5 separate regions of the Homo sapiens genome follow, and all the other regions are linked to region 2. The links are contacts of gene promoters, found by promoter capture Hi-C in blood cells and fetal thymus (Javierre and others, 2016). All regions are on one chromosome and are shown on one strand. The core of a region is centred on a gene start or on the middle of the fragment in contact, and the rest is flanking DNA. Distances in the headings are between cores, read along the strand shown.

Region 1 (5,028 bases), core at 990-3,489, 310 kb before region 2:
TTGTAGGTTCTCCTGACCTCACTTAACTGAGGCTGTTTTATGGGGCTTGGTGTGGTGACTTATACCTGTAATCCCAGCACTTTGAAAAGCTGAGGTGGGGGGCTTTCTTGAGCTCAAGAGTTGGAGACCAACCTGGGCAACATGGCAAAACCTTGTCTCTACAGAAAATAAAATTTACCCAGGTGTAATAGTGCTTGCTTGCAGTCCAAGCTACTCAGGAGGTTGAGGCGGAAGGATCACCTGAGCCTGGGGAGATTGAGGCTACTGTGAGCTGTGATTGTGCCACTGCACTCCAGCCTGGGTGACAGAGACCCTCTCAAAAATTTTTTCTGACATGGACAACCAGAAATATGTCCCAACACTGGAGAAAGCCGAGGGACACCCAGGCCTGGCTGTGGTTCCCACAGGAAGATTTAACTGGAGCTTTTTGGCAGTCCCAAGTAACAACAGCTCTGGTAGGACCATTTCACTCACCAAAGCTCCGATTTTGTTTCTCCTGGATTAGACTTAAAAAACAAAACCTCAAAAAACTGTGCAACACACTATTTAAAAACATGCACTCCAAGTCAAACGTAAACACAAAGGGATATTTTATAAAGCACAAGCTTTATAAGGTTGCCAGAACATTTCTCTGTTGGTTTCAAAAATTGAAGTAGAAACCACTTAAGAGTGAAAAATATTCCATGGAGGAAATTCTTGGACATTGAATTCCCAGGTTTACGTCACAGAGAAGTCAATGTCTGTGGACAAGAGCCCCATGGGCAAGGCAGGTTGTGGGAAGCCAGTGGGCTGGGTTGAAGTTTGGGAGGACAGTGTGCACTGTGAATAATCATTTGCTCCAATGGGGCTCCAGGCTCCTCAGTGATGACTGAGTTATAAGGCTTAAGTTTTGCCAAAGTGTCCCAATTTCCCAATCATGTCTCCCAAATGTATAGACAGAAACACACACACACACACACACACACACACACACACACACACACACACACACACATCATTCTTTGTTCTTAATCTCTAGAGGCCAGAAACCGACAGTGGGAAGTCTAAAGGCCATGGTCTAAGGGTTGCTCTGGAAACAGCGCTCTAAAAATTGACCCACTTCCAAAGACTTCCAGTTCAGGCTCTAACCTCCCACCACCAGTCCCGTTACCTCCTGGACCTTCCTCTTCTTTCCCCATGTCCCCTTTCCCAACTATTTTGCTTTCAGCTTTTAGAAATGATGAGTGAACAAATCAGTCGCCATTCTTGGGCCAACTTTGAGGCACCCCTCTGACCTGATGCGTCCCTCTCTATTGTATTGAGGGCATTCTTGGCCTGGTTAGGGGTATGTTGGTATCAGGATTTCCATCATCTCATCCTGAGAGCAGTCTCCCATACTGAATTTTGCAGGTTGCCCTCAGAACTTAGGGAGCCAGAATAGAAATACTTTATAGCAGTTGGATGAAATACTTTTGTCTGTTAAATAAGATATTGGGGGAGGGAAGTTGTGAGTTTATTTTTATTGTATTTTACAAAATAATTGGACTATGTAAATTGGAAAAAAACCAACCAGTATCACAACTGGAATTCACAGATGGTTTGAGACTCACTGGATAAGCTAGGAGGACCTAGAGCTACTGCTAAGGGTCCAGAGGCTGAAGGGCCCAGTGAAGGGGTGGCTTTCAAGTGTTAAGAGGTATGGATGGAAAATAGCAAACGTGGAAGTGCTTACAGAAGCCTGTGGAATGACATCTGTGAGACTGGTGCTGGGGTGCACTATGGGGGAAAATGGCAAAGTGTGGGCTGCCACAATGGTGCTCTTGGGTGGGCCAGAGCCACCCTAAAGGCTCCATGTTTTCCTAGAGAAGGATTAAGCACTGGTTGTGGATGACATTTTCACTGATGAAGGCGCTGTCCCCCAACCTTCCCTACAACCACTGGGGACAGTAGGTCTTGGGCTGATTGTGAGTCAGGTCCAGTGATAGATGTAGTGACTGTCCAAGGGAACAAGAAACTTCCATCAGAGTTTGAATTCCTGGCTTGTGCTGCCTCTTTAGCTCCTGTCTGCGTTAGCACATAGAGTATGTGCAGATAAGACCCACTTCTGGACTCCCGGCTCAAATCCCCTGCAGCCTCTTCCAAACCATTGTGCTATATACATGTTCATTCCCCTCTAACAAGTGGCATTAAATCTCATTTTGGAAGGGAGGCTGTTGAGGGGCGTCCTAGCTGCTTTCCTCTATGGGTAATGTTTTCTCCAGGAATGAACATTCTATAACAAAGATCACTGGCAAAGAGCTACAGCTTTGCTGATAAAAATCACTAAGCAACCCCTCTTCAGACACCATGCTGAGCTCTTCATGGTCCCTCTCCTTTAAGCTCACAACTCTTACATTTACCCTCATTCCACGCATTTCAAAGTGAGGCTCAAATTTTCTCTTGCACACTCCTCTCTCCTTCCTTTATAATACTGCAGTCATACTAGATATAGCTCATCTGGGTTACAAGGATTCAACTTTATGAGGAATTACATTTTACATCTCAGCCTGTGAGAAATTTTGCTTCCAGGGACCAATTTCGGTTTTACATGTCAGTTGAGCAGCTGAGCCTGATCAAAAGGGAGTCACTGTGTGGTCACTGTCATAATGTCAAGCTGTGGCTGCCTCTCAGAACTCTGGGGTTGCTAGGCTATGGTGGCAGGAACCTCTCTATCATATGTTTTCTTTTGTTTTCACCTTTTATTAGAGGTTTAATTATATAAACTTTGAATATCATAAGCCAAAAAACAAACCCAAGGCTTAGAGACATAAGTAACTTGTCTAAGATCACACAGCTAGAGAATGCTTGAGCCAGAATTCAAAACCAGGTGCATCTCTCCACTCATATGCTTAACTGACACAATATTTAGAATGTATATCGTACAGGAATTAGAAATATTAGAATGAGATTCAAGCCATGGATAGGTAAGCTCCAAAGAGGCTGTTTCTTGATGCCATGATTAAGGTGTGAAATATTTCAAAGACAATGAGGGGAACAAGCTATAAACAACAATGTCTGTAAAGTTAGAGTTTGTATTTAGAAACATGCCCCTAAGTCTGGTGACAAATTTATTGGCTGTTTTGGGCACAGATCAAACTGCAAACATTTCTAAAACCCTCTCTCCATATTTTTGTTAAAAAGCAGCTCATAGCTAAAGATGTGGCATGTGCAGAATGGCCAGGTGGGAATAGTTAACAGAGATCCCATTCTGGTTTTTCCTTGAGGGGGCTATTTGACTCAGTTCTTCTTTTCTTCTTCTTGTCGTCTTTTTTTTTTTTTTTTTGAGACAGAATTTCCCTCTGTTGCCCAGGCTGGAGTACAGTGGTGCGATCTTGGCTCACTGCAACCTCTGCCTTCTAGGTTCAAGTGATTCTCCTGCCTCAGCCTCCCAAGCAGCTGAGATTACAGGCATGCACCACCATGCCTGGCTTATTTTTTTTTTTTTTTTTTGTATTTTAGTAGAGACAGGGTTTCACCATGTTGGCCAAGCTGGTCTCGAACTCTAGACCTCAAGTGACCAACCTGCCTCAGCCTCCCAAAATGTTGGGATTACAGGTATAAGCCACCACGCCAGGCCTCAGTTCTTATTTTCTATTCAATCATGTATGTTGAAAAAAAGAAAAAGACACACCAGTGTTACAAAACCTTGTATTAATCATTTCCCTTCACTTTCAATATAACGTTGATATGAAATATAGCCATGATTCTTAGTTACATGGGAGGAAATGAATAATAAATACATTGTAGCAAGTTTAAACCACAAGGGTGTTTCACTGGTAACAACATTTGAAAACTGTACACTTGCAAAGAACAGCATCTTCAAACATTAGTATATCTGTATATCAGTAAAGCTTTTACATGTAACAAACATGCTCTTTCCATATATGACAAATTTAAAAAATATGCATTGCTTGGCAACATGAACTAGGCAAAAATATTTCTTTGTTCACTAACTTTATACAGGAAAACAGGACGAAAGGCATGCATGTACAATACAGATGCCTGCACAGGGCATGCAACAAAAGAAAGCTTTTTAAAAGTCAGCTTACATTAGGCATAAATACATGAGGATTATATATTAATAAGGGAGGAAGTTTTCTGTTCGACATTATTAACATTCCTGTTTTCTTCCTATTCCTCCCAGAGGAATACACATTCACCTTTAAGTAAAGATAAAGGAATTACAAAAAAATAAAACTCACTTTGCAAACATCTCTGATGACTTGTAAAAAAAAAAAAAATCAACATTAGTGTTATCACAGCTCCATGTGCAAATTATCCTTCTGCAGGTTCTTCTTGTAACAGGCACACCTGAGCGCCTTGGTCAGGCTGCTTCCCCAGGCCCAAGCTGGAGCTGACTGCTACAGACATCTCCAGGGGACCAATGAGGCCAGGCCTGCTTTTCCTCCCCTTGCCCGCCTTCTGGTTGCATGCTTTTGCATTCAGCCCAGCTCAGCCCCCAAGCCCAGGCTCCTGGGGAATAACATCTACAACCTTGCACCGGCAGTAGCTACAAGAGGTGCAGAAGAACAAAAGATCCGGAGAAGGCTCCCATCCCGTAAAAGGCAGCCAAGGACACCTCAAAAGAAACCCTTGTTTCCCTCAGTGTCTCTTCAAACGAATGGGAGAGAGGGGGGCCCAGCTGTAGCTCCAATCCTGAGTACCAAAAAGGAACCCTCAATACACAGGATTTGAGAGCTCGGTGCAAAGAGCCGCCCGGACAGGCAGACCCAGCCACATCTATTTTGCTTGCTGGCTCTCGTTTAAAAAGTGAAAACTCAAAAGCATGTGAAAAAACAACATATCAGCAGCAATGTTTCATGTCTTGTACACAGTTCATGTGTTTCTTCCTACTGTTTCTGGTAAGAAGCCACTATGAATAAAAAGCACCAATAAAACATCATACATGATAATATTGTAGAACACCACTGTCCCTAGGACAATGTAGAGATGCCAAGTACACACTGCTTAAATCAGAACAAGGGGGGAAAAGCATGTAGTGAAATAGAT
Region 2 (5,371 bases), core at 2,504-5,003:
TTCTTTTGAGCTTTTTACGGCTTTTAACAATTGAGTAAGGTATAATCCTGTGAACAAAAATTGAAGCATATTTCTTTTTTTTTTTTTTTTTTTGAGATGGAGTATCGCTCTGTCACCCAGGCTGGAGTGCAGTGGCACAATCTCTGCTCACTGCAAGCCCCACCTCCCAGGTTCACACCATTCTCCTGCCTCAGCCTCCCCAGTAGCTGGGACTATGGGTGCCTGCCACCACGCCCGAGCATATTTCTTTCTATCTGACTTCTCCAGAATTTGGAAACTATTCCTGAGTATTCTTAACTTATGGCAATACAGTTATTTGCATAATTATTTGCATAATTGCAATAAGAATCTGTTTCTTTGATAACAGAACACAATTGGAAACACTGGTTATTTTACCAAGGCTTTCACTGAAATGACATGCTTTCAAATATAAATAGACTAGGGAATCAAAGTTGACTTATAGAGCCCATAAGAGTCCTTTAGGAAAACTGGCCTCATAGTCTATGCAGTCCCTATACAGAGTTCCCAATCTGTGGTATGTACAGAATGTCACTTTCTTTTTATTTTTTATTATATTTATTTATTTTGAGACAGGGTCTTACTCTGTCACCCAGTCACTGCAACCTCCACCTCCCAGGCTTATGCAATTCTCCCACTTCAGCCTCCTGAGTATCTGGGACCACAGGTGCACACCACCATGCCCCACTATTTTTTTGTAATTTTTGTAGAGACAGGGTTTCACCATGTTGCCCATGCTGGTCTCGAATTCCTGGGCTCAAGTGATCTGCCCGCCTTGGCCTCCCAAAGTGCTGGGATTACAAGTGTGAGCCACTGCACTCATCCAAGAATGTCACTTTCTAACAGGCCCAGAAGCTCCAAGTTATCCTGGGATGTCCAGAGGAGAGGAATTCACCCAGTTTATACAGGTATTTGCAGCCCAGCCTGCTCAAGGCTTTAAAAAGTCTCATCTGAGATTCCTTATGGAAAAAGTTCCAACAAAGCCAATTTAAAAGATAATTATTCTTGCTGCACTTTATACACATAATAAGGCCAAGTATAATAAAACTAAAACTTATTTTACAAATTGGTCCTACCTTGATTCGTCTCTGATAAAAATGAGAGACTGGAGAGAGAAATATTATAATACACCTGCTGGTAGACTCTAGTCTTGTCTGTTGTGTTTGAGTATTTTTAAAATATTATTTTCTGCTGGGTGTGGTGGCTCATGCGTCTAATCCCAGCACTTTGGGAGGCTGAGGTGGGCAGATCACTAAGGTCAGGAGTTCAAGATCAACCTGGCCAACATGGTGAAACCCCTTCTCTACTAAAAATACAAAAAAAATTAGACAGGTATGGTGGCATACACCTGTAGTCCCAGCTACTTGGGAGGCTGAGGCATGAGAGTCGCTTGAACATGGGAAGTGGAGGCTGCAGTGAACTGAGATCAAGCCACTGCACTCCAGTCTGGGCGACAGAGTGAGACTCTGTCTCAAAAAATAAATAAAAATAAAATATTATTTTCTACAATTTGGATTTGATCTTAAAACCTTTCTGGGCTACAAGTCTCCAAAATAATGTTTTCAAATTTTTCTCCCATTTTTCTGACTTATACTCAATAGAATTCCTACTACCTTTTTTTCTGAGGCCCTGCAAGCTGAAGCTTATTTCTTGTGATACAAGCAAGAAGAACATGTCACATTGCCACTGCCTTCCTCCTCTGTAACTAAAGATGCTTTGAGTCTAACATCTGGATAGATTATACCAACCATTAACGTTTGTTTTTCTTCTGTTTCCATAGAAATGCCTCTTATTAAAAGTCTGTTGCCTTATATTTCAGACAACAGGAGACTATTCACTTAGATTCCAAATGGCATCTAATCTCTTCCTACAATCATTATTAAACTGAGCTTAAGCATTTTATTAGTTATCACTGGGTGCTATTTGGCTTTTAAAATAATTATTTGTTATATTCAATAGGGGTACAGTTGTTAAAGTTTATGTCTTCCAGGCTTCAACTATTCCAAGTCCCTTCAAGTCTGTAGAACAGTCGGTGAGAGATTTCCATGCCCCCCGGGGTTAAGCAGGGATGACAACCCTGTTCAGCAGGAAGTAGCTTTAGAAGATAAGATCTTTGGCCCTTTCTCCTTAAGAATAAGGAAGGTAAAATCTTATAAGGGGAAATGAAAAACAGTAGAAATGGGGCTTGGCTTCAGCTCACCCACACTAGAGCATTTTTTTCATGCATTTCCACTCATGACAAACCCACACCACTACCTTACTGCTAATAGTCCTTTTATTTAAAGAATTCCAATGACTGGCCTTAGGAGATAACCAAGGTTGAGAGTGTCCCACCTTGGAGAGGAATGTTGAACAATTGATTCACAGCCTTGTTGCCGCAAACCAGACCATTGGGTGGCCCATTACTCAAGACAACCCTGGCAAACAGATAATGCTGACCTGCATAAACTACCCCTAATTTGTTGTGCTCTTTTAGGAGAGTCAGTCAGGGAATTCTCTCATTCTCTTATGCTGCCTCCCTTATGCTCCGGCATAAGCTCCAATGAAGCCTTGCCTGGAGAAACTCTTTTGGCCTCAGGTCAATTTGCATTGAGAGACCAAGAACCCATGGTCATAACAAAATGAGGTACTGCCCCAGGCAGTTTGTTTTATTGAAGGTACCTGTTGAATCCTAGAGCCTAAACTTTACTTCTCCCAAACCACTTTCTTCATGCATTCAAAACTGGACTTGTTCCACTAAGTCTGCATCTGGTACAGAGACTTCTTGATGTTTACTTAGGCAGTGGCCCATAAGAGTGCTCATTGAAACACCAATCATCATTCATTCATACTTCAATAAATAACTTGTATGGAGAAAAGAGGCTGGGCATGGTGGCTGACGCCTGTGATCCCAGCGCTTTGGGAGGCACACAGGAAGACTGTTTGTGGCCAGGAGTTCAAGACCAGCTTGGGCAATATAGGGAGACTCTATCTCTACAAAAAAATTTAAAAATTAGCCGGGTGTGTGGTGGCACACGGCTGTAGTCCCAGCTACTGGGGAGGCTGAGGTAGGAGGATTGCTTGAACCCAGGAGTTTGAGGCTGCTGTGAGCTATAATCGTGCTACTGCATTCCAGCCTGGGCAACAGAGCGAGACGAGAGAGAGAGAGAAGAAATGTGTGTGTGTGAGAGAAGAGAGAAGAAATGTGTGTGTGTGTGAGAGAGAAGAAATGTGTGTAAGAGAGAGAGGGAAAGGGGGAGGGAGAGAGAGAGAAAGAGAGAGAGAGAGAGAGAGAGATTGATTAACCAAGTCCTGGAAGGCAGCCGTGGTCAGAAGTGGGGTTCTGGAGAGGGTGGGAGGAAAGGAGGTGTGCCTAGATTTGAGGGAGATCAAATTTGGAAGGTAGGCTGCGGTCAGTACACACATTTACCATTGAAAACATTGATGTCACCATTAACATGCTCTCAGAGCTTGAAGACTGCGAAAAAGGTCCGGAGAACTGGCATGACTTTTAAGTATGCACCTTGGGTTTGTTTCTCACTTGCAGCCAGGCAGAGCGTCCTCCTCTAGAGGGAGCAGGGAAAAGAAAAAAAAAAAAAAAAAAAAAAAAAAAAAAATCAGGCGATCGCATTCTGTCTAATTTTGAGCCGCGCCTTTTGCCGTCCGCCATCACGTGCCGGCCCGCTGAGGCCGCGTTGATAGGTGGGGGCGACTGGGCCAGGCGCCGGGGCAGGAAGGGAGGCGGCCGCCGTGCCATTCTTAAAGGCGCCCGAGTGTAGGCGACAGGCCGCTGACGGCCGGAAGGAAAATGGTGAGTTGCCGCTGGGAGGGCGGGGGCCGGAGGGCTGGGCGAGCCGGCCAGCCGGGTTTTCCCGGTTTCCGGAGCCGGCGGCGGCGGGCAGCGCCCAGGAGGGCTCGGCGGCCGCTTCCGCTCCCAGCAGCTGGCCAGTGCCCATAGCTAGAGTACTTGGCCTCTGCCGCCGCCACCACGCCTCAGGGCAGCATCTTCCAGCTGGGCCCGGGGTGGACCCGCCCAGCGGGCCATGGGACTAGGGTGCGGCCACGAGCAGGGGGGTTGGGGAGGCCCCACGCCAGGTCCTTCTGGTTGGAGGGCTTCAGCTTCTGAGCTGTAGGTTGGAGGGAAAGGGGTCTGCCCCATCGGAGGGCTCCCTCAATTCCTGCTTTCCCTGCCAGGGCCGTGGCCAGGTTCCAGGGGTTGGTGGGCCCCGAGCATCTTCCACCTGGCGGCGTTTTGGGGGAGGACTCGAATTCCGATTGAATTCTCTCGGCCTCACCTTAGCTTCTTTCTCTCTGCTCCTTTCCCTAGCTTCCTACAGAGGATTTCTCCTTATCTTTGCTTTCCTATGGCAGTTGGAAACCTTTCGACCCAAAGCTTTGGCACTGGGCCTTAAAGTAATTGTCAATAACTTTAGTTTTGTTGGTTCTGGGGGCTGTGGCTTCTGTTCTTACATGGGATGGACCCCAAGCATAAAAATAAAGTGGAAAATTAAATAAATCGCCATCAAGGATCTTTTGGATCCATCCCATTAGGTTTTAAAATATGGGTAAATTTCATTAGAAACAACAAAACACTGCTCTCTGTGACCATCCACTCAATTCTCAGCCCACTTTCATCGAATAGATCTTGTCATGGTCACTGAATCGAATGGATTCTTTTCAGTTTTCGTCTTCTCTGACCTTTTAGCTGCATTCCAGAGTGTTATACTCTCTTGTTTTTGAAGCATTCTCTTCCTTCATTCTTCCCCTTTGGCTTCTGGGATACAGAGCTCCTCCTACTTCTCCTATTGGTCCATCTGTTTCCCTTTCAGACTATTCTCCTTTCCCTGGACAATGCTCGAAGGAGTCCCAGGTTTCATCCTAATCCTTCATTTTCCATTCTGTATTCTTCATCCTAAACTATGGCTTCAGTTACCATCTATATTCAGATGACTTGTGAATTTACAGCTCAGAAGACCTTGCTTCTGAGATCCAATCCAGATCTGTATGTACTTTTTTTTCTTTGAGTCGGAGTTTCACTCTTGTGGCCCAGGCTGGAGTGCAATGGCGGGATCTCGGCCCATTGCAACCTCCGCCTCCCAGGTTCAAGCAGTTCTCCTGCCTCAGCCTCCCAAGTAGCTGGGATTACAGGCATGTGCCACCACGCCCGGCTAATTTTGTTTTTTTGTTTGTTTGTTTTGAGATGGAGTCTCGCTCTGTCGCGTTGGTTGGAGTGCAGTGGCGCGATCTCCGCTCACTGCAAGCTCCGCCTCCCTGGTTCACGCCGTTCGTTCTCCCGCCTCAGCCTCCCGAGTAGCTGGGACTACAGGCTCCCGCCACCACACCCGGCTAATTTTGTTTTTGTATTTTTAGTACA
Region 3 (5,224 bases), core at 33-2,532, 410 kb before region 2:
GTGTGTGTGTGTGTGTGTGTGTGTGTGTGTGTGAGATATTTCACAATGTAATGAAATGTCTTCTTAAGGCCTTACTCATTTTGCCCCTTGCAGACACAGAAAGTGGTTTACTTCACAGCATCGGCCAGGCTTTGGGAATCCTCCCTTAAAGAGAATTCATAGGACAGTGTTCTGTAATCTAGCATGGATCTAATTACCCAAAGAGAGAGGAATTTCTGACCCTGAGACAGGTCACAGAATTATCTAAAGTGACTCACAGATTTACTTGAGAAATGGTTAGCTGAAATATCTCATGAGCGAAGATTCATTTAAAGAGGATTAATAACTGCAAAGAACACATCATTCCACATTAGAAAACTGTTCTGGTTGGCCGAGCTCGGTGCTCACGCCTGTAATCCCAGCACTTTGGGAGGCCGAGGTGGGCGGATCACCTGAGGTCAGGAGTTCAAGACCAGCCCGGTCAACATGGCGAAACCCCGTCTCTACTAAAGATACAAAAAAATTAGCCGGGTGTGATGGCGGGCGCCTGTAGTCCCAGCTACTCGGGAGGCTGAGGCAGGAGAATCACTTGAACCCAGGAGGAGGAGGTTGCAGTGAGCCGAGATTGCACCACTGCACTCCAGCCTGGACGACAGAGGGAGACTCTGTCTCCAGAAAAAACAAAAAAAACAAAAAAACTGTTCTGGTCAAGTTTTACTATTTAAAAAGTCCATGGGCCGGGCGCGGTGGCTCACACCTGTAATCCCAGCACTTTGGGAGGCCGAGGCGGGCGGATCACCTGAGGTCAGGAGTTCGAGACCAGCCTGGCCAACATGGGAAAACCCATTCTCTACCAAAAATACAAAAATTAGCCGGGCATGGTGTCAGGTGCCTGTAATCCCAGCTACTCAGGAAGCTGAGGTAGGAGAATCATTTGAACCCTGGAGGCGGAGGTTGCAGTGAGCCGAGATCGCACCATTACACTCCAGCCTGGGCAACAAGAACTAAACTCCATTTCAAAAAAAAAAAAAGTCCATGGATGTAGAGACACTGCAAGATTAGTAGTTGTCAGGGACTGGCGAGAAGAGGGGGATGGGTAGTGATTGTTTAATGAGTATGGAGCTTCCTTTGGAGCTTCCTTTTGGAGTCATGAAAATGTTCTGGAACTAGAGAGTGGTGATAGTTGCACAATATTGTGAATGCCACTGGATTGTAACTTCAAGATGGCTAAAAATGACCAATTTTATATATATTTTACCACAATATAAAGACAGGTTTTGTGGCGTGCCTGCAGTCCCAGCTACTAGGGAGGCTGAGGCAGGAGGATAGTTGTTGCTCAGGAGAACAGCCTGGGCAACGTGGGGAGACCCTGTTTCAGAAAAGAAAAGTCCATGGAGCGGACCATTTAAGATTATTATTATTATGTTTATTTTCATGTTTTTGAGACAGGGTTTGGCTCTGCTGCCTAGGCTGGAGTGCAGTGGCGCAATCTCGGCTCACTGCAGTCTCACTCTGCTGGACTCAAGTGATCCCACCTCAGCCTCCTGAATAGCTGGAACTACAGGCTTGTGCCACCATGCCCTGCTAATTTTTGTATTTTTGATAGAGACGGGTTTTTGCCATGTTGCCCGGGCTGGTCTTGAACTCCTGAGCTCAAGGGATCTGCCTGCCTTGGCTTCCCAGAGTGCTAGGATTACAGGTGTGAGCCACCATACCCAGCCCATTTAAGATTATTATAAGCCATTAATTGAATATAATCATGCATTACATTATGATGTTTCCTTCAATGATGGACCACATGTATGAAGGTGGTTTATAAGATTACAATGGAGCTGAAAAATTCACATTGTCTGGTGATGTCTTGGTGATCCTGACCTGTGTAGGCCTAGAGTAATGTGTTTGTTTGTGTCTTAGTTTTTTCCTCTCGTCTCCCCCATGTCTTAGTTTTTAACAAAATTTAAAAATTAAGAAAATTGGGCCAGGCATGGTGGCTCACACCTGTAATCCCAGCACTTTGGGAGGCCAAGGTGGGCGGATTACTTGAGGTTAGGAGTTAGAAAGAGACCAGCCTGGCCAACATGTTGAAACCCCATCTCTACTAAACATGTAAAAATTAGCCAGATGTGGTGGCGCATACCTGTAGTCACAGCTACTTGGAAGGCTGAGGCAGGAGAATCACTTGAACCCAGAAGGTGGAGGTTGCAGTGAGCCGAGATTGCACCAATGCACTGCAGCCTGGTTGACAGAGTGAGACTCCGTCTCAACAGTAAATAAATAAATAAAAATAAAAATTAAAATTAAAAATAGAAAAAGGTATAGAACAAGGATATAAAATATTTTTGCACAGCTGTACAATGTGTTTTTGTTTTAAGCTGTGTTATTACAAAAGAGTCAAAGTTTTAAATACATTAAGCTGAAATTATTGAAGAAAAAATATGTTTAGTGTAGCCCAAGTGTACAGTGTTTATAAAGTTTACAGTAGTGTACAGTAATGTCCTAGGCCTTCACATTCACTTACCATGCATTCACTGACTCACCCAGAGCAACTTCCAATCCTGCAAGCTCCTTTCATGGTAAGTGCCCTACACAGACATACCATCTTAAGTCTTTTCTACTATATTTTTACTGTACCTTTTCTATGTTTAGATGTCTTTCTAAAATTATTATTATTTGTATTTTAAATATAGAGGCAGGGTCTCACTGTTTTGCCCAGGCTGGTCTCGAACTCCTGGGCTCAAGTGATCCTCTCCTCTTGGTCTCCCAAAGTGCTGGGATTACAGGCATGAGCTATCCCACCTGGCCTACATATCTTTAAATACACAAATACCATTGTGTTACAGTTGCCTGCAGCATTCATTACAGTAACATGCCATACAGGTTTGTAGCCTAGGAATAATAGGCTCTACCGTGTAGCCTAGGTGTGTAATAGGCTATCTCATCTAGGTTTGTGTTAGCACTCTCTTCCTTCAGTGTTTGCGATATGAAACTGCATTTCTCAGGTGTTTCTCAGAATGTATCCCCATTGTTAAGCAATGCATGACCGTACTTTTTAATGGGTTAAAAGCTTTACGTTGGATGGTCTTGGTTCATCTTCCAGTTTTCAAGTAAACATTTCTCTTATCCCCATGACAAGGCAACTGAGGCAGAGAGGTTGACACAAGTAGTAGAGCTGGTATTTGAATCCAGAGAGTCTGACTGCAGAATTCTTAGCCACTTCCTTATACTGCTACAGAGAGAACTGAATCAGTGTACCCTATCTGTATATTTCAAACTGTGAATTGGGTCAACAGCATTAAAAAAAAAAGTGGAGTAGCCGGGCGCGGTGGCTCACGCCTGTAATCCCAGCACTTTGGGAGGCCGAGGCGGGTGGATCACCTGAGGTTGGGAGTTCGAGACCAACCTGACTAACATGGAGAAACCCCTTCTCTACTAAAAATACAAAAATTAGCCAGGTGTGGTGGTGCATGCCTGTAATCCCAGCTACTTGGGAGGCTGAAGCAGGAGAATTGCTTGAACCCAGGAGGCGGAAATTGCAGTGAGCCAAGATTGCACCATTGCACTCCAGCCTGGGCAACAAGAGCGAAACTCAGTCTCAGAAAAAAAAAGTGAGTAGAGGTTGGGCACGGGGGCTCAAGTCTGTAATCCCAGCACTTTGGGAGGCTGAGGTGGGCAAATAACGAGGTCAAGAGATCAAGAACCCCGTCTCTACTAAAAATACAAAAATTAGCTGGGTGTGGTGGTGCGTGCCTGTAGTCCCAGCTACTTGGGAGGCTGAGGCAGGAGAATCACTTGAACCCGGGAGGCGGAGGTTGCAGTGAGCCGAGATTGTGCCACTGCACTCCAGCCTGGCGACAGAGCAAGACTCCATCTCAAAAAAAAAAAAAAAAAACAAAAAGTGGAGTAGAATGGATAAGATCAGTCTATCACATATAGTAAGGACAAGTGTTTTGAGAAACTTCTTCTTTTGTTTTTTTTTTTTTTGAGATGAAGTCTCACTCTGTAGCCCAGGCTGGAGTGCAGTGGCGCGATCTGGGCTCACTGCAAGCTCGGTCTCCCGGTTCACACCATTCTCCTGCCTCAGCCTCCTGAGTAGCTGGGATTACAGGCGCCCGCTACCACACCCGGCTAATTTTTTTTTTTTGTATTTTTTTAGTAGAGATGGGGTTTCACCGTGTTAGCCAGGATGGTCTTGATCTCCTGACTTTGTGATCCGCCCGCCTCGGCCTCCCAAAGTGCTGGGATTACAGGCGTGAGCCACCGCTCCCGGCCGAGAAACTTCTATGTAGGTTTTATAGGCATAATTGTGTGTGTGTGCACTGGCTCCAGATGTAAAATGCATTTCTTACTGTAGGTTGTAGTCAAAAGTTTGAAAGCCTGTATCTAGGGGATCTGTTTAAGGATTTAATATTTCTTTTTTTTTTTTAAAGAGATATATAATTAAAGAGAAGACAGAGTAGTGAGAACAAGGATGATGCTGAACTTAAAGGAATGAACCTGAAATGTGGTGGGGTCTTGGACCAACCTGGATGGCAGGGAGAAGGAAGGATACTGGTGGGAGATAGGAGTGAGTGGGAACCCACATCTTTAGGTCCATAAACGCTTCTGCACAATCCCTTTTATTTCTTTAGAGAGCATGAGTCAAGTGGCCACTATATATTGTTTTTGGATAAGAACATACTTCTCTGAAGGTCACTTTTCTGTGCTTGTAAACAGGATACAGGACTTTATATCTTTTATATATCTGTATTCTATATATTAACTCCTGGTTAGTAATGTTGACTTAAGTGTTGTAAAATTTAAAATAAGTTGGTATTTTACATTCTTCAAAATCCATTTTTCCTCCCAGTGCCTCTTGTGTGGATTGATCCAAATTCCTGGCATTCTGGGGAATTTGTTCAGTTTTCCCTACGTTGCAGCGTCTCTCCATGACTGTCTCCTTGTGCACCTTTTCCCTACTTTCCAGTGTGTACCTTCCATGGGAGCATCTGTGGTCATCTGTGACCAGGGTGGTGTCAGGGTTGTATAGGTTTCCTAGTACTATTCCCTACTGGACTGTAGCTCATGGGCTAGGAGGGAGGGCTGGAGGAGACGCTATCATCTCTCCCAGGAACTGGCTGTCCTTTGAATCTACATCACAAGCTGATCCTTGGACCAGCTCAGACCAGCTCGTCTTGATCTATTTCTGTGCCATTTCAGTTTAGCTGTATCCTAGTTCTCTTAAATATTCAAGGTTTTATCTTGGTGA
Region 4 (5,631 bases), core at 2,238-4,737, 370 kb before region 2:
CTTTGCACAGCTTTATTCTGATACAGTGTTCACGCTCCTCGCTCTCATTTCTCTTTCCTGCTACAATCTTCTTTTCTGTTGTTTATCCTGTGGGTTCATGCCTTAAAAAATTCCCTTACTGCCTTTTTTATTTGGGTTTTAGGAGAGGTGATGTACATACACGTTCATCTGTGTTTAACTGGAAGTCAACATGGGGGTTTGTGTTCAGATATCTCTGGTAGGCCCCAGCCACCAATATTTTATTGCCCTTAAATATCCTTGTTGTTTCTTCGTATAAAGTTAGTGAATTTTGAGTGATGGAGGAAATACTGGGAGGTGTGTGTGTGTGTGGAGAGAGAGAGAAAGTTAAGAACAAGATGAAGGGGTCGGGTAAAGTGTTCCTACTCTTTTTTTTTTTCAAAAATAATCAAGCTAAGTTTGAATAACTTGAGGTTATAGTGACCATATCATAATTGAAATAAATGAGTCTCGGCCGGGTGCCGTCTTTCACACTTGTAATCCCAGCACTTTGGGAGGCTGAGGCGGGCGGATCACTTGAGGTCAGGAGTTTGAGACCAGCCTCACCAACATGGTGAAACCCCATCTCTACTAAAAATACAAAGATTAGCTGGGCGTGGTGGCGCACACCTGTAATCCCAGCTAATCAGGAGGCTGAGGCAGGAGAATTACTTGAACCCGGGAGGCAGAGCTTGCAGTGAGCCGAGATTGTGCCATTGCACTCCAGCCTGGGCGATGGAGTAAGACCCTATCTCAAAAAAATAAAAATAAAAGAAGAGGAATAAATGAGTCTCTGTGACCAGTTGACTGTGCTGTGGCTCTGATGTGTTCCTGTTTCTTTATGCAGGCCCTGGGATTTAACACAGTTGTGAAATGGTGGTCCTGATATTTCTCAATTCTGTGTTGGAATCTGTAAAAAAAAAACTACTCCAGCAATCTGACAACTGCCCTCTAAAGTTGTTCCTGTTACTTTGTTTTCACTTCCACTTTCTCATTCATTTCCTCTGGGGATCAATAAGAAAGTGGGTAGAAGAGACAAATTTAACTTCCCCAGTTTCTGACCTCATTCCTGCTCAGCTATTTTGCTATTAGATAGGGCTGCTTGGCACCATGAAAGAATATTATATCATAGCTGTAATTGCTTCACTGGAATAAGGCTCTTAGCACAAATCCAGAAACATTCTGGCTGCTTGCGTGTGATCCATCCCTGGTGGCAGTGCTGAAAAGTTGCTGAGAAAAAGTGTGTTGGTAGTGATTGGGAGTAATTAATCTTACTATAATTTTTATTAACGACTCCCTTCCCAGTAACTTACCCTCAACTAATGATGTATTAAACCAATTTCATGTCAACTGTGAGTAAAAGTATCTTTACTAAAATTGGTTATTCTTATGGTTTTATAATATACAGTCTAAGTAAAATCAGCATGCTTACTGTGCAAACATAGCTGTAGGCCCAGTCCCCTGGGCCTCCCTGTCAGCAAGATTGCTAACCCTATACCTTGCCCATATAGAAATTCCAGCACTGCTGATGCCTATAACAGACTGTCCATATGTGAAAGGTGTAATGGATAGTTTCATAGTGTAAAAAAGCTTGGCAGATCACATTAGGCCTTGGTCTTAATGTAACAGCCTTCTCTGAAAAACCAACTGTTGATCATGATTAACACTTTATGGGAAATGGACTCTTGAGTGATTCAGTGAGATCATACAATAAATGGCAACCTGGTGGTAGAAGGAAATAATCTTAGTTATTTCCTTTCCAAGTGAAAGGAAAAGATCTCAAATAATTAAGCTTTTATGAAACAATACAAAGGAGTTGATTATTAGCATGGGGATTTGTCCTTAGACTAATAGGATTAAAATTTAAGAATAAAATGGAACATGAAGCCAAAGAACCAAGTGTATGTTGCTTTCAAATATTTTGCAAAAAATTTGAATAAAGAGTCTATTAAATAGAAAAGAAGACTAAGATTTTATCCAACTACTTATTCCTTATAAGAAGTAAGAATATTTAGAGAATGAAGAGGAATAAAAGCTGAATGTCTTAGCAAAACTTCACTGCTCATTTTAATCTTATATATGAAGTTTGTTATATGCTTGCCTTTAAATGAATGACCTTTCAGTGCCAGTGAAGTCAAATATCAAGCAGTAAAGCCTTAAGTAACAAGAAAATGCCAGAAGTGAGTTGATCTGGCTCAACTCTAGTAGAATTCTAGAATAAACTTAGTTTGAATAGAACTTTCTTTTGTTGCTGAAAAGCCATTGAACATGTATTCATTTTCTTCCCTTAGAAATAACTGAGCCTCGGCTGGGTGAGGTGGCTCATGCCTGTAATCTCAGCACTTTGGGAGGCCGAGGTGGGCAGATCACTTGAGGTCAGGAGTTCCAGACCAGCCTGGCCAACATGGTGAAACCCCATCTCTACTAAAAATACCAAAATTAGCAGGGCATGGTAGCATGCGCCTGTAATCCCAGCTACTTCGGAGGCTGAGATGGAAGAATCGCTTGAACCTGGGAGGCGGAGGTTGCAGTGAGCCGAGATTTCACCACTGCACTCCAGTCTCGTGACAGAGCAAGACTCTGTGTCACTAAAAATAAATAAATAAATAAATAATTGAGTGAATGTACGAAATCTTGAATTTAGAGTTGTAGTATCTCAGGTAGCCATGGCTGACCTGTTGGGTGGGCACTGTGCCAGCTACTGTGGAGGCTAAAGAAGCAGGACATGGCAGCCACCCTCAAGGAGAGTGCACAGGGCAAGACTGCAAGTGCCATGGAAATGCCTGCTGTAGCTCCAAGTTCAGAGGAGCCATGATGGCTGTGGCCTGGCAGGTGAATAGACCTGGAGGTGGAGGGATGAGCAGAATTCTAAATGGGGGAGAAGTTTCTCTAGGTATAGTTAATGCATGAGCAAAGACCAGTCAGAGGGTAGGAGCAAGGCCTATTCCAGTGGATGGGAACCAGATTGACTGATGGAAGTAAGAGTAAGTGAGGTGAGTATTAGATTACAGAGGGAGCAGTATTTTTTTTTCTTTTTTGACTATAAAAGCAACATACCATTTAAATACAAATGAGTGAATAAAGTGAAAACTTTTCTTACCTATTTTCATTCCCCAGAGTTAGAACTAGAGATTTCTTTCACTATCCTTCTGGAAAATATTTATGCAAGCACAAACATAAGATCATATCTTATATTCTGTACTACAACTTGCTTTTTAAAATTTTATTTTATTTGGTGTTTTTTTGAGATGGAGTCTTGCTTTGTCGGCCAGGCTGGAGTGCAGTGGTGCGATTTTGGCTCACTGCAACCTCTGCCTCCTGGGTTCAAGTGATTCTCCTGCCTCAGCCTCCCCAGTAGCTGGGATTACTGATGTGCACCACCATGCCTGGCTAATTTTTGTATTTTCAGTAAAGACAGGGTTTCTCCATGTTGGCCAAGCTGGCCTCGAACTCCTGGCCTCAAGTGATCAGCCTGCCTTGGCCTCCCAAATGCTGGGATTACAGGCATGAGTCACTGCACCCGGCCAGCTTTTTTTTTTTTTTTTTTTTTTTTGAGACAGGGTCTTTCTCTGTCGCCCAGGCTGGAGTGCAGTGGCACTATCTGGGCTCACTGCAGCCTCCACCTCCTGGGTTCAAGCGATTCTCCTGCCTCAGCCTCCTGAGTAGCTGGGATTACAGGCGTGTACCACCACGCATAGCTAATTTTTGTATTTTTAGTAGAGATGGGGTTTCAACATGTTGGCAAGACTGGTCTTGAACTCCTAACCTCAGGTGATCTGCTCACCCCAGCCTCCCAAAGTGCTGGGATTACGGGAGTGAGCCACCGCGCCTGGCCCTGGCCAGCTTTTTAAAAATTTAAAATACCTTGAAGTTCTTTGGACATCTTTTAGTCCAAAAAGTCCAAGTTTCTTTTCATAGCTACCTAATATTTCTTTGATTAATACAATTCATTTAACCAGTATTTGCTATAGATAAGTACAGTTTGCAGTTTGAGACTTGCCAAAAAGTAAAAAAGTACCCTGGTGAACAAATTTTATTATCTTTGTGTGCTTTGAATCTATCTGAAGTTTAAATTACTAGTATGGAACTTGATGGGTAAAGGGTAGCCGAATTTTTGATATTATGAAATTGCTCTCCAAAGAGACCATGCCAGTTTATACTCTAATAAATAGATACATAGGTAAGGGGTGGTGTATGTTTCTCCACACTTCGGCCAACACACTTTTCATCACACTTTTAAATCTTTGCCAAACTGATAAGTAAAAAATAGTATCTATTTTAATTTGCATTTCCTTAATAGAGCGAGGTTGAATCTATTCAGACACTTCCTGTTCTTAGCTCCAGTATTAATTTTTCCACTGAGTTATTTGTCTTTTTATTCTTGGTTTGCACAAGCTCTGAATGTTAAAGCAGTCAGGTCAGGTGCTACAGACAATGCTTCCCAGCTCGTCATTTGTCTTTTGATTTTGCTTTATAGTATTATATTTCCATAAAGAAGTTTAAAACTTTTCTGTAGTTCACAAACTTCTTTTTTTTTTGGTACTTGTATGGCCACATTATTATATTTAAATCTTTGCTCCATCTGGAGTGTATTTTGGGGTGAGGAGTGAGGCAGAACCCATCCACTGCTGCGTGTGCTCACTGCCCGGCAGGTGCAGCACCCCCACTTCCTGCCTTCCTGCCCTCCCTGCTGCAGGTCTTTGCTGGGCCTTTCTTATCTTCCTCCTGGAGGGAATGTTAAGCTCCTGCCTCCTCCCTGCCTCTCATCTCTGAGGATCCTTCAGTTTGCCCTCATGAGCTGCTGGGATGTTCTTTCTAAAGTGTGGATTGGATCATGCTGCTCCTTTGGTGGCTCACCACAGCTTTTCAGTTAAAGTCCAAACTCCTTATTTAGAATAATTTAGAAAAAGCCAAAGAACAGAAATCACAAATCTACAAGTTGAAAATCTTGTATCATAGGTTGCTGGGGAGTCTGATATCTAGGAATGAGACGATATGTAACTAAAAATATGCTTTATAAATCTTTACATCTTGATGAATACGTTTTTTAAAAAGATGGGGAGAGAAAGGAATGGACCAAGAGTTTGAAAGCCTGCATACATTAATAACCATTAGAAAAGGTCAAATTAATGATTTGGGGGAAAGTGCCTGGACCCAGTCAGTTTTATAAGTGTTCTTTCAAGCTTTCAAGTAACCACAAATTTTGCATGTGTATAAATAATTCAAGAGCGTAGAGAAACCTGTGAAGTGTCAATTAATTTGATGAAGCTGCCTATTCTTGATAACAAAGCCTGATAAGCCTAGCATTAAAAAAAAAAAATGATAGGCAAATCTCACTGATTAATGTAGTTGTAAGAATCTTAAAATGTCAGGCTAGTATAGAAGTACTGTTTTCAACATGACCCAGGGATGTTTAGTCCAAGAATGTAAGAATGGTTTAGATTAAAACTGACAACTACTGATGCTGGGTGTGGTGAACTAGATTAATAATGCCCCTCTTGGCACAGCGTATCAAGATATAATGCATATGTACATTTTACACTTTCGGGAAAGCATGAGGCAATTCTAGTGAGAATCCACTGGAATTAGCACTAAAGCCACAGTCTGGATTCTGTCCTCCCTTTTCCCATCCCA
Region 5 (5,002 bases), core at 1,992-4,491, 290 kb before region 2:
ACAGACCAACATAAACCACCAGGCCAACCCTTGCTGTGGCTCCTGTTAACCCTGAGGGCCCATCTCATTTATCCCAGGCCCCTGCCCCTCGTGGCCACAGACCAGGCAGATGGAGATGTGAGTCTTCAGGAAGGCAAAAGGAAAGACCCCTCTTTAACTGAGCCTCCTCTGCTCTTTCCCAAAGGAGGCATGTTTCTTCAGCTCAGATGGCATCTCTGAGGACCAGTATTCCAGTATTCAGTAAGGATCGCTAGTTTTGGAATCCCCAAGGTCTAGGCTGACTTGAGACATTAATTGTATCTTTTCAGAAGTCCCACACGTATGGAGTAGTCCTGTGCTCAGGCCCAGGGTCAAGAAGATTCCGGAAGAGAATGCTACCCATCCCTAATGAGGTGCTGCTGCAGCATCCACCTGAGGAGCCCAAAGGGCTTGTCCTTGGCAGTAACCGTCCATCCCTGCTGGGTCTCACATGTGTGGCACCCACGGTGCAATTCTGCAGTGCTTTTTCTCCAAGGCACTGAGGGTAAGGAGCCAATTTCTTTAGGACTTTAGAATAAGAAACAGGCTGGGGCATTCCAGGAAAAATCTATAGAATCCCGTTTTGCCAATGACAGCGGAGGCAACTCTGTTGGATAACTAGAAAGGTGTGGAGTCTGGTTCACTGAGCAGCAGGGTTGCTAGGAGGAGAGAAAGCAGGGAAGACAAAAAGGGACAGAGCAGTGGGACCTGGTCTGCTGTGATGAGATGAGTAAAGAAGAAAGGAAGACAAGAGAACTAAGAAGAAAGGGGGAGGATGGTAACAAAAGGGAAAGAAACGGCACAGGCAGGGAAACAGAGGGGTGGGGCAGCAGGCAAGCTGAGGATGGCAGAGATGGCCATGGAGGGTGGCAGGAGTAATGAATAGCATCCCTGAGTTGACCATGGGAACGCACCTTTTCTCTGGTGGCCTCCTAACATTCCTAAGCCTGCAGAAGGTCAGTGCCTGTGGAGGTCCTCTGGGACCAACGCTTTCACAAAAAGTGATGGGTACAACATGGTATAAGATGATATTGTACCATCTTGCCCCAAGTTGATGCTCAGAGGCAGGAGGCTGTGGGCCCAGCTGGGTTCTTGGCTATGACAGAATTGATTTATTTATCAATCTCCCTACCCATTGTCTGCCAGTCCTGAACAGGGATGTCTGCCTTGATTTATTAGAAGACATGGAGGAAATATTTATCCAGTACTGTACTTGGGTCCCTGTTCTGGTTTCTGCCTCTGCATGGCAGCCCCTTCCACACCCCACTGGACCCAGTGCACCAATAACTCTCTATTCTTTCTAAAGGCAGTTCTCCGGAAGGAAATGAAAAATAACAGCCTGGAGCCCTGTGCTCCCAGATATATGCAGCGTGCTTATGGCAGAAGAATCCCAATTGTGAGCTGGTACTTAGAGGAGGTTTGCTGTGGTGATCAGGTAAGTCACACCATGAAATGCTGCCATGTGAGGTGCCACTGGACCCAGCTCACATCCAGCTGGTTCACAACCAAGGGTAGTTTGCATGTGGCTTTGGGCAAGGGAAGAATGAGATTTTCAGAAGGCTGTGCAGCCTACCCTTCTGAAGGTTTTCCTTTGAAGCCTGCTATGGGGTTCCCTGCCCTTTTCTGTTAGGCCCTCCAGGGGGTAAAGAACCTCCATGATCTCCTACTGTTGAGCCAGGGCCACTCCAAGATCCTCTCTGACTGGATCCCAAGGACAACTAAGCCTGGGTCAGTAGAAATTAGTTGCTTCCAAAATAAAGGATCCCTCTCCAAGCAATTTCCAAACCAGTTATCTAGTTGAGAAAACGCCCTGCCTCCATGAGGAACGTGACCATTCGCACAGGCGCCACACTTGTTTTCTGGTGAGCGTATTACACCTCGTAGTGTTTCTTACTCATCACTGGCAATAGCCACCTGAAGGGTCTCCTGGCTGGTCCCAGGAAACAGCTAAAACTTGTCCATGTGAAGGTGGAGGTTGCAGTGAGCTGAGATTGCGCCACTGTACTCCAGCCTGGGTGACAGAGTGAGACTCCGTCTCGAAAAAAAAAAAAAAAAAAAGCTTGTCCATGTGGGAATAACATGAAACACCACTCCTGAGGGGCCTCCAAGTGCCCGTGAATTGTGTAGAACCAGGAACGAGGGATGAGTCCTGTAAACCCGAGCAAGGTGACTGATGAATTGATCCGCAACTTGGTGGGTTCTAGCCCTCTGTCTTCTCTGTATGAGACGTTTAAAGTCTCCCATCAGTAGAGTTATTTTAGGTTTACAGAATGAAAGCATCCTTCAAATGCATTGTAGTCTTCAAGATTTGCCCAGTTTACAATGGATTCTCTGAAGACATCTAACAGCCAGGAGGAAAACACTGCATTGTATGATAACAGTTTTCCGAGTATCTACTTTTGGGTTAGTTACACATCTCAATTTCATTTTGTGTTCACTATTACTCCTGTTCATGTACAGATGAAAGCCACTTTCTGACTTCCTGATTTTTGCTGTCCTGACATGATATTTGTAGTCTAGTTTTAACGCCTGGCCACAAGCCCCGGGAAGTCTCCATAGCGAACCAGATTGCACTGCTTTGTGTGGAAAGGCCCATCTGCAGAAGAGGCTCTGAATCCAGGAAGAGCAGAAGCGGCTCTGAATCCAGGATGAGGACCCTGACTCTATGACTCTAGGATGAGCCTTCGTCTGGACCTGCTTGGAGGTCAGAGGTGTCGTCCCTGGGTAGGAGGCTGCCTCCTTGGGAGGAAGGAAAAGTCACTACAGTGACCTGTGGCCTTGACAATGATTGGCAAGGGCTGAGGAACCTCAACCCTGTGCCCTTAAGCAGGGGCCTTCTGCAGCCTCCTTCCCCTTCAGTGAGGGATCCTGGGTCCTGGCCAGGCCCTGCCCTATCATGCCCTTTATGCATGTCCTGGAAGAGCCACCCAGCATGGTGCTGAGCGTGCTGGGCAGGACTTAGGAGTGGCTCCTGTCCAGCGTTCAATGGTTTATTTGCAATCAGGAAATTTAGAGCGGGCTTTTTCCTGTGCTTTGGCTGTTATTAAAAATGCCATGTGAGGATCTTTAAGACCTTGCTGGAAGTGGGTTTGTAATACTTGAGAGATTTTAAAAAAAACACTCAAAGCGTTCCAGAGTTTTAAGTCCAGTGTGCGAAGCATATTATTTAGAGACTTGCAGGTAACTACAGACTGCTAAAAGGGGTTGTGCCTGTGGGCTAGGAAGGGGAGGGGAGAGAGACAGTCACTTTTTGCTCACAGCACTTCTGTATTATTTGATTCTTTAACCACAGGAACAAGAGGGTTTGCATGAAGAGTGAAAATGATATTAGGTTCATAGTTGCCCTGAGCACAAGCCAGCCACTTGGCATTGCTGTGAGATAGTGGAGGGGAAACAAAGGTATAGGTGGAAGATTCTATCAACAAACCCGAAGCGCTCCGGGACAACCCAGCTTTTAGAAAGGGGACTGTCTGGACCTAGTCTTCCCAGTTAAGATGGAGAAAGCTCAGGGAAGATTCAGTATGAACAAAGAGGAAGGCTGAGAACTGGCAAAAGAGTGGCAGGAAGGGAAAAAATCAAGAAGGCCTTGAGAAGGTATACAGAATTGAAGACAGTGGTCACTCTGCTGGTGAGACTGAGGCCAGGGTGAAAGACCCATTCAAGGTGACAGATCTCCTTGTGCGCAGGACCTCTTCAAATCTTGTCCAGATTCTTTTTTATTGGGAATGGATTATACATAATTCTGCGTGAAAACAGAGGATGGGATGAAAGGACCCTGGGATAAAGCCTTCAGAACCCCCAAATTTTATCATGTTTCTTCCCAGGAAGAAAAATAGCTAAGCATATAGAAATATGTGTAATTATATTGTTATATTTTGGTGCATAAATATAGAGAAAAGGAGCTTTAAAACAAAAGTGAGCAGAGTTTTGGAAGTCAAGAAGCAATGTGAGCAGGCCTCTGCACTGGGTAGCTGTCGCTCCCCTCCCTGACATGCCGTTCCCAGCAGTGTGTCCTCCAGCGTCCTCCTCCTCCCTGACCTCCCAATTCCAGCCTACCCCCCCACCCCATCATCCTGCACCCTCCTGCCTGACTTCTACTCGGAATCCCCCATGTGGAGGAATCCCCCCAGGGAGAGTGGCCAGAGTCCAAGCTCCTCAGCTTTGGATTCAAAGTCCCCCACCATCGGCCACGACCTTTACAGCTCCCTGGGTCCACTTTCTGCTACCTCAGCCAGACCCTTTGGCCCAGCCACGGCTTCCGGGCCATGCTGTGGTATTCTGGACCTTTGCAGTCTTGCTCCTGGGTTCCTTCTGCCTGTAACTCTGCCTTCCCTCTCTCCACCCTCTGCTGTGCCCTGAAGCTCAGCTCCAACTCCAGGAAGCTTCCTTGCCTATTCCAGGCCACAGTAACACTTCTCTTCTTTAAACTCCTACAGATAGGACTTACTGGACAGAGCGTTTCTACTGTCCAGGGCATTTTCCTACAGGTACAACACATCTCCAGTTTGCCTGCCTTGGGGCAGTGGGGGTGGGGGGGGGTCCATCCAGATAGGTGCAGTGTAATTGCCTGTGTGGCTTGTTATTACTCATGGAGTCTACAAAGTCTACAAGATCACTGCCTGCATAGAGAAAGGGTTCAAGTATTCATTAGCTGTGCATAATTCCAACCACTCTGTTTTAGGAAGCATAGTGAAAGCTGAAATTGATCTGAAGTGTGCTAAGTTGCTCTTTAACCAAGTAAAGGAAAGATGGCTGGTACAACAGTCATCACTTTGCAAGAAAAGCCCAAACCAGGGGGAAGGTCTCAGCATCAACAGTTTTCTCTTTCTCTGTCTCACTCTCACTTTCTCTTTCCACACACACACACACACACACACACACTACACATGGAGCCCTCCCACCTCCCCACCACCAAAGCCCTCTTGTGCTATCTCTGGTTTAATCAATCTAGAAATATGACTAGTATCAAAAATATCCCCATCCG

Evidence for each region. The method cuts DNA at HindIII sites, captures the fragments that hold promoters and counts their contacts. A CHiCAGO score of 5 or more calls a contact.
Region 1: a fragment that was not itself captured here is called in contact with the fragment with the promoter of GMFB in region 2 in 1 of 17 cell types (M0 macrophages); the score reaches 5.5 in M0 macrophages.
Region 3: a contact is called between a fragment that was not itself captured here and the fragment with the promoter of GMFB in region 2, in 1 of 17 cell types (total CD8 T cells). The highest score is 7.3, in total CD8 T cells.
Region 4: a contact is called between a fragment that was not itself captured here and the fragment with the promoter of GMFB in region 2, in 2 of 17 cell types (total B cells and monocytes). The highest score is 5.9, in total B cells.
Region 5: a contact is called between a fragment that was not itself captured here and the fragment with the promoter of GMFB in region 2, in 4 of 17 cell types (activated CD4 T cells, monocytes, naive B cells and 1 more). The highest score is 6.1, in activated CD4 T cells.

Annotation. Positions count from the first base shown.
Region 1 is chr14:54,791,937-54,796,964 of GRCh38, reverse strand. SAMD4A (sterile alpha motif domain containing 4A) reads right to left here. Exons shown (of 13, transcript NM_015589.6): 13 at 3,653-5,028. Among named protein-coding and RNA genes, the nearest start is that of MIR4308, 84 kb to the left of the region's middle. The HindIII fragment of the contact is 3,264 bases long and covers 608-3,871 here.
Region 2 is chr14:54,487,362-54,492,732 of GRCh38, reverse strand. It overlaps GMFB (glia maturation factor beta), which reads left to right and starts at 3,753. Exons shown (of 7, transcript NM_004124.3): 1 at 3,753-3,808. The coding sequence starts at 3,806. RefSeq lists a silencer at 3,671-4,070. The HindIII fragment of the contact is 2,730 bases long and covers 1,663-4,392 here.
Region 3 is chr14:54,895,655-54,900,878 of GRCh38, reverse strand. All of the region lies in intron 1 of GCH1 (GTP cyclohydrolase 1), which reads left to right. Among named protein-coding and RNA genes, the nearest start is that of GCH1, 4.6 kb to the left of the region's middle. RefSeq lists an enhancer at 2,968-3,468. The HindIII fragment of the contact is 3,526 bases long and covers 1-3,045 here.
Region 4 is chr14:54,853,425-54,859,055 of GRCh38, reverse strand. The region is part of intron 3 of GCH1 (GTP cyclohydrolase 1); the gene reads left to right. Among named protein-coding and RNA genes, the nearest start is that of MIR4308, 22 kb to the left of the region's middle. The HindIII fragment of the contact is 3,391 bases long and covers 1,792-5,182 here.
Region 5 is chr14:54,776,753-54,781,754 of GRCh38, reverse strand. The region is part of intron 11 of SAMD4A (sterile alpha motif domain containing 4A); the gene reads right to left. Among named protein-coding and RNA genes, the nearest start is that of SAMD4A-AS1, 91 kb to the right of the region's middle. The HindIII fragment of the contact is 2,323 bases long and covers 2,080-4,402 here.